2 separate regions of the Homo sapiens genome follow, and region 2 is linked to region 1. The links are contacts of gene promoters, found by promoter capture Hi-C in human tissues and cell types (Jung and others, 2019). All regions are on one chromosome and are shown on one strand. Each heading gives the region's core, a stretch centred on a gene start or on the middle of the fragment in contact. The rest is flanking DNA. Distances are from core to core; before and after follow the strand shown. Region 1 holds the start of FAT4 (FAT atypical cadherin 4). Region 2 overlaps LOC102724210 (a long non-coding RNA gene).

Region 1 (3,345 bases), core at 585-3,084:
CGCACCAGCACTCGCACTTCGGTGGGGTAGGTGGGCGCGCTGGAAAGGACCACCAGGTTGATCACGTCGCTGGGCAGGCTCTCGCGGTCGATGGTGGAGGTGGTGTACAGGGCTCCGGTGCTACTGTTTATGGCAAACAGGGCGTGGCTTTCGCTGAGCCTGTAGGTGAAGCCGGGGCGCGTCTGGATGGTGCCTACCAGAGTGCCTGGAGGTTGCTCTTCCAGCACTTGGAACACCTGGCGCGGCTCGGCCCCGTGGACCCAGGCCTGCCCCGGAAGCAATGACAGTAGCCAAAACACTCGAAGGAGCTGAGATACTGATAGAGTGTGCAACGGGAGCCACGGGCGGCCAGTAGCCCTGTCTGGTGCTAAGTCCATGGTCCTGGCTCCCTAAAACGATGTGATAAAGAGAAGGAAGGGGTGAAGCAAACGCAATGATATTTACAGGGATTAAGGAGCGCCAGCAAAGATTCAGCTGACGGCTTGGTCTGAGACCTCTGCTATTTCAAAGAACCTCCAGTCCGGCAAAAGCAAGTAGCATCAGCAAAAGACTCTAGGTAGCCAGTTGAACGCGGAGTGCAAGAGAGATGCTGTGGCGAAAAGCGGCAGGGCATTCCGCGGGACACTCCTGTGAGCTGAGTTCCCAGAAAAGTTTCTCAAGCCTCTTATATATGCCCCCTTTTACTTTGTTTTTGAATCCAGATAGTCTGAGCGTTTTCACCCGGGTGGATGAGAGTTGGGAGAAGTTGCCTGTATCTAAGGTATATGAGGAATCATTGCAAAGAACGGTCTTCAGAAACTTTAGAACTTACCCGCAGCGAAGAACGTGAAGAGGGAGGAACAAACGTCCAAGCACAACTGCGCACCGGGGAAGGGGTGGTGGGGAACCGGGAGAATCGAATTTCTTTCCCAAAAGCTGGAGGCGATGGAATTCCTGGAGTCCCCACTCCTCAAAAACCAGGCTGCAACGCCCCTCCAACAGGGCGCCGGCAGTGGCCGCTGAGGCCCAGGCGGCGGCGTCTGCGCGCAGGCAGTTCGGGAACTGCGTTCCAAGCGCTAGCGTTCGCGCTCTGGCTCCCGTACCCGGGAGCGCTCAACTCTGCCCCTTCCCCTCCTGCAGCCGCCGCCGCCGCCGCCCCTGTTGCGGCTTCAAGCCCGTGGTCCGGCACAAACAACAGCCAGGGCTCCTCGGCATTTTTCACCTCTGCCGGGGCGCCTGCCGACCCATTATTTGTACATCCAAATCGAACGCAGTTTCCCCTTTCTTCTCGGCCTCGCAGGGGTCGGGCAGAAACAGCGTGCGGTCCCCGAGTCGCCCTCCCCTCACCATGCCAGGGGGGGTCGTTCTCCGGCGGCCCCAGTCAGAAGCCCACTCTAGCGCGCCTCGCCCCTGCCCTCGCTATCTCTGCTTTTATTGTCCCGTGTCAGTTTCACTTTGTAATCCACAAGGCTTTTTGTTTGGGGCGGGGGGTGGTTGATGCCTCTCTCTCCTTCACAGTTGGCAGCGGAGGCGGCGAAGTCGGCGCTGGGCTGTAGTGACGCCCTCCGCAGCTCCGGACGGCGCCTGTCAGCGCTCTCCCTCTCGCCGGCCGGGGCCGAAGGTTGGACTGCGGTGGAGCTAGGGCTCCGCGAGCCCTTCTCCACCTCCCGCCTGGTCCCTCACACTCTCCCCGCCCCTTCCCCGCCGCACAGGCATGCACACACACACACATACACACGCACACACACACACACAGCGCGTCGCCGAAACACAAACAGAGGGGGAGGGAAGACCGCGAGCTGGAGCAGCACTCAGAAACTTTGCTCGACACTCATTGATCCCCGCACTTTAGTTCGCCTGGACTCCCCCTAGCTCCCAGTCCTGTCACCTTCTGCCCCTCCCTCGCCCCAGCCCCATTGGGCCGGAGCTGAAGCAGCCCCGACCGGCACTCCTACCGCGAGCGCCCTCCGCCTTGCCCGGCCTCCGACTGGCTTCTCGGGATGCTAATCACTTCAGCCTCCCGGAGGGCTGTAGGCGGTCTGGTGTGGGAGCACAGCGAGGCGGAGGCGCTAAAAAGGGGGGTGATTTTTTTTCTTTTCTTTTTTTTTTTTTTTTTTCCTTTTCGGCCAAATCTTGGCCGGCGTCAGAGCAATAACAGCAAAAGGCTGCCGCAGAATAGATGGGGGTGGGGTCAGGTTTGCAGATAAATAACTTTAGTGGCAGGGTCTGGGGGAAGACCGTTAGGTTGTTATGCTAGTAATAACTCAGGGGTAAGGGGGTCGAGAGAAATAAAAGAAAGGCGGGGGGTGAGGGTCTGTTAAAGCGGGGAGGAAGGATTAAGCAAAGCCTGTCTGGGAATGCACAGTGCAGATTTGCTTTAACCATTTCCTGCCCCTTCTCTCTTTATGCAAGGGATAGAGCTGCCATACAGTGTGATCCCACAGAATCCAAATCAAATCCTCCCCTTTGCTCCTCTTTCTACACAGTGGGCTCCCTGCTGTCTAGGGCGAGCTAAACTCTAAATCTTCACTCACTTGCCCCTCTCCCCCACCTTCCAGGTGACTAGGGGGCAGGAGGCCTCCGTAGCAAGGGCACTTTGGACTTCCTACTATAGGAAAGGCCAGGGGAACTCAGTGTTTGTTTTGTTTTCTTTCCCAACTGGATTCCAGGTGCCAGTAGCCCAAACCTTAGGGTTTCAACAACAATAATAATGGCAGCCCTTTGAAAAGAGGGAGATCTTTTCCTGTTGCAAAGTTAGTTTGGAATTTTGATCCCTGATGGAGTATTTCCACCTCCACATTTTTTAGTCAAAGGAAACCTAATAAAGTTTTATTTTGCTTTTCAGTCTGGGAGAAATAGATACGAGAAAGTAGAAATAAATAAAATAATATTTAAGCTTAAGTTTTTAAAAATACCCACATGCCACTTAATGCACTCAGATCAACTCACCCACTATTCACTGCAGTTAATTTTTGTGGTGGCATGCATCGTTTCTTTAAAAGAAGAAAAACGTTACTAGGAATCAGATCGATATTTTTCCCCTTTAAGGGAACCAACCTAGAAAATAAGAATTCAAGCCAAACAATGCAAATACAGGGCATATGTCATACATTTCTGCCACAAGGATCCCTCACAAACGTAAAACTTTCTGCGCCCAGAGAGGGTTCAGTCATGAGTAAATACTGCCCTCTGCTGTTCTACGTCAGTCTTACATCTTTAGTCTCCTGGTTTCTTGCTTAAAATTAAATGCAGAGACTAAAAGGATCGGATTACAAGGCTAATTCCTGCTTCTTGCCTAGGGATAGCAGCAAAGAAAACGATCTCTAAGACTTTCCTAGTGCCTTTCTTATTTAGAGTAAAAAAAAA
Region 2 (3,345 bases), core at 537-3,036, 1.8 Mb before region 1:
TTTCCATTTATATTAAAGGAAAGAAACTTACATAGTATAAAAAGTTATGGTAATGTAAAGTCACTTTGAAGCAGTTATTAAGACAGATTATGCTTTTAGTTTACCCATATCCTTCAGTGTTGAATCAGGCATTTGATACAATGCCTCAGTAATGTAGAATGATTGCAAAAAAGTTGCTAGGAATTGGCTAAGGATTTTTCACACTGCCCATATTATATGTTTTCCTGGAACATATGTGTACATGCACATATACATGTAAGCTAAAATGTAAATGTAAGTTTTATATGAATAAAAGTATTAATACTGAATTTATTTTAAAGTAGATTGCATATTAGATTTCCAGTAATTTATGTAAATTTTCCCTCCAGTTAGTTAACATTATAAAAATGTTACTAGACTGATACTTTTTTATCTTAGACATTTATAATGCTTCAAGCATTGCTGCAGTTTTTATTCTTACATGTAACTTCAGGGTGGGTGGGTAAGAAACTTGTTACTTGTAGGTTATCAATGGAGAAGGCAGAGCCAATGATTCATGAGCTTCTGGGGACTCAAAATACTATTCTTTATCATTATTTCTGGAGTCACAAGGGCTACTTTGAACAATTGAAGAAAAATAGTAAGTCTTTGAAAGTAGACTCCACTGCAGAAAACAAATAGCTATATTCTAGCCTCATTTTTCTTTTTTCCCATATTAGAGTTGGTCCTCTGCATAGGTGTCTGTTTGGGTCACATTATCTATGAACCGTACTTGAATAAATTGCTAGCTCTCTTGCAGCTGCAAGTGCTGGCTATTTTGTTTGAATTTGTAGCTCTTTGATGTTTTCTGGCATGCACGATTTTAAAATTTAGATACAGCCTGCAATTTTTTTGAAGTCCTAGACAATTCTGATTGAGTAAGTCTTATTAACTCAGTTTAGAAGTTTGAATCTAAACCTTCACAACCCTCCTTTTGAAAGGTGTCGAGATGTGTGGTAGGGGGGATTATTTTTAATGAAACTAAGCTTGCATATTTTTCAGGTTTGAAGATGCAATGGGTTGTATCTATTAATTTACAGAACTTTAGAGACTTTAGAGACAGGATAGCAATTGACTAGGATATTGAATTTTTAAAGCAATTTCATTTCACAGTATTAAATTGGAATCTAACTGTAATGCCAGAAAGTTTAGATGACAACTTCATTTCTGTAGTACAATTCATCTATTTTCCCTATTCATATGTTGCAGGCCACAATAATTAGTTTTAGAAAAAGGCAAGAGGAAACGTAAAAGGAAATTTCTCTTTTGATACCTTATGAAGACATCCACCCCTAAGGATAGTTTTCTGTGACTGCATTTGTGAGAGGCAGAGTCAATGACATTAATGTAGGCTCTCCTTCCTTCATGGCTGTGATCTGGCATGTCTGAATATACAACTGAAATAAAAATGACCGGTGAGTCTACCTTGGAAAACTCAGAAGCCAACTGGAGATCCTGTTGCAGCCACACTCAAGCACATAATCGAAACCAGGTTACCACTTCTAAGTCAGAAAATTAAAAATGACATATACTGGCTTTGCTGAGGGGGTCGGGCTCCCCTTGCAGGCAGTGGCAATTCATAATCATGGATGAGGAAGGGGCAGCACAAAGGTCACTGTTGTTCACTATATTACACGTTTTCATTGTCTTCTAGATATTTCAGGGATAACTTTCTTTAGGTGGTAAAATTAAAAACACCCCAAAATGTGTGATTTGCTAACGATTTTTATAAATGTTTTATTTTTAGATAATTTTAGATTTGCATGCGGTTGTAAGAATTAACACAGAAAGATTCATATACCTTTCACTCAGTTTTCCCCAGTGGTAACATCTTGCATAACTATAATACCACACCCAGCGTACTGGGTGAATCCATCGGTAATGAATATGTGGCAATCCATCAGCCTTATTTATAATCATCAGTTTACATGGACTTATTTGTGTGTGTGTGTGTGTGTGTGTGTGTTTAGTATTTAGTTTTATTCAGTTTTCTTATAAGTGCAGATTTGTGTGACCACAACCAAAGTTAAGATACAAAACAGTTACATCACAAAGATTGCTTATGCTAAACTATTAATGAAGGATATGCTCAAAAGATTTATTTACCAATTTGAATAGATTTTCTGAGGTTATTTGTATCTAAAATGGTTTGAAAAGACACCAAGTGACTAAGAAGACAGAAGATAAACTCCTCACTAATTTCAAGACATAGGCTGAAGTTGGGTGAGCTGATCTCTCTGTGGAGTTCTCTGGGAATACAATGAATGACCATGCTTCTTTATAAGAAAGAAATTGCTGAGCAGAAAGTAGAGAAAGATTTTAATGATATCTGCAGCAAAGAATAAAGTCAGGGCTTTAAGGTAGAGGTTAGTAGGCCTTTTGCACAGTTTTAACAAAAGGAAGGTAAAAATTACAGACTCAGATTCTTTTATATTTTAAAAAAAGAAAAAATGCAATGTCAGCAAGAATATACATATAAAGCGTTACTGGTCTGTGGTCTGTAAAAAGAGCCTTCTCCCTCTGGGAAAACAATAAAAAATTATTTGCCCCTGTATCAAATTTAGGACCACTTATGAAAATGGCTAGCTTGGCAGAGGCGGCTGCTTAGCTGGGAGCTCAATTGTACAATTCACTTGTAGCTCAGCATGAACTTTCCTCATAGACAATAGACATTTGTGTTCACACATTTGAAAAATGAACTTACACAAACAACTGCAATTTATACTGTTCCTTGAAACCATAAAACGTTAACACTTTTAAACTAATGGGTTTTGGGCTACCCTCAAAATAAAGCTTTGTGTTTTCTGCTGCTACCCTTTATTTCTAGGGTAATGAAGACCATCTATAAAGGGAAATTGTTAATAGCAGAGAAATTGTGAGAAGTCAATCATAAAAGCTGCATGTTGGATTTTTTCCCCTTCTTTTGTCCCTGTTGAATTAAAAAGATTTTTTTTTGTTTGAATGAGAATGTTGGTTTAGTTATTACATAATTAAAAATTCTCCTCTTTTCACTATTAGGCAGAAAGGACTGCCTGAGATACTGTTGATTAAACCTATTTTAGTATTATCATCTCACCGATCAACTGGACTAAGGTTTATTTTTGAAGACCTGAAATTTACTGCTAGATCTAGATGGTAAAGGTCTAGGAGGATGTATGAACTAGAAATATACCAAGGAGGATGTTATTTCCTTAGAAAATGCTAAGAGGACTAAAGCACAAGAACTTAAGCCTTGAGGTCTTGAAATTTTCGCTTCCGTTGTGCTAGCTCTACCTCATTTCCTAAACTTGCCTCACCCACTCATCCACCACAGGTCCTCATCGCCTC

Evidence for each region. The method cuts DNA at HindIII sites, captures the fragments that hold promoters and counts their contacts. A contact is called where the count stands out against the background at its distance.
Region 2: a fragment that was not itself captured here is called in contact with the fragment with the promoter of FAT4 in region 1 in 1 of the 25 tissues and cell types used here (dorsolateral prefrontal cortex).

What each region holds. Positions count from the first base shown.
Region 1 is chr4:125,313,444-125,316,788 of GRCh38, reverse strand. FAT4 (FAT atypical cadherin 4) reads right to left here and starts at 1,834. Exons shown (of 18, transcript NM_001291303.3): 1 at 812-1,834; 2 at 1-389. The coding sequence starts at 377. The HindIII fragment of the contact is 10,793 bases long and covers 1-3,345 here.
Region 2 is chr4:127,130,860-127,134,204 of GRCh38, reverse strand. All of the region lies in intron 5 of LOC102724210 (a long non-coding RNA gene), which reads left to right. Among named protein-coding and RNA genes, the nearest start is that of INTU, 500 kb to the left of the region's middle. The HindIII fragment of the contact is 3,903 bases long and covers 1-3,345 here.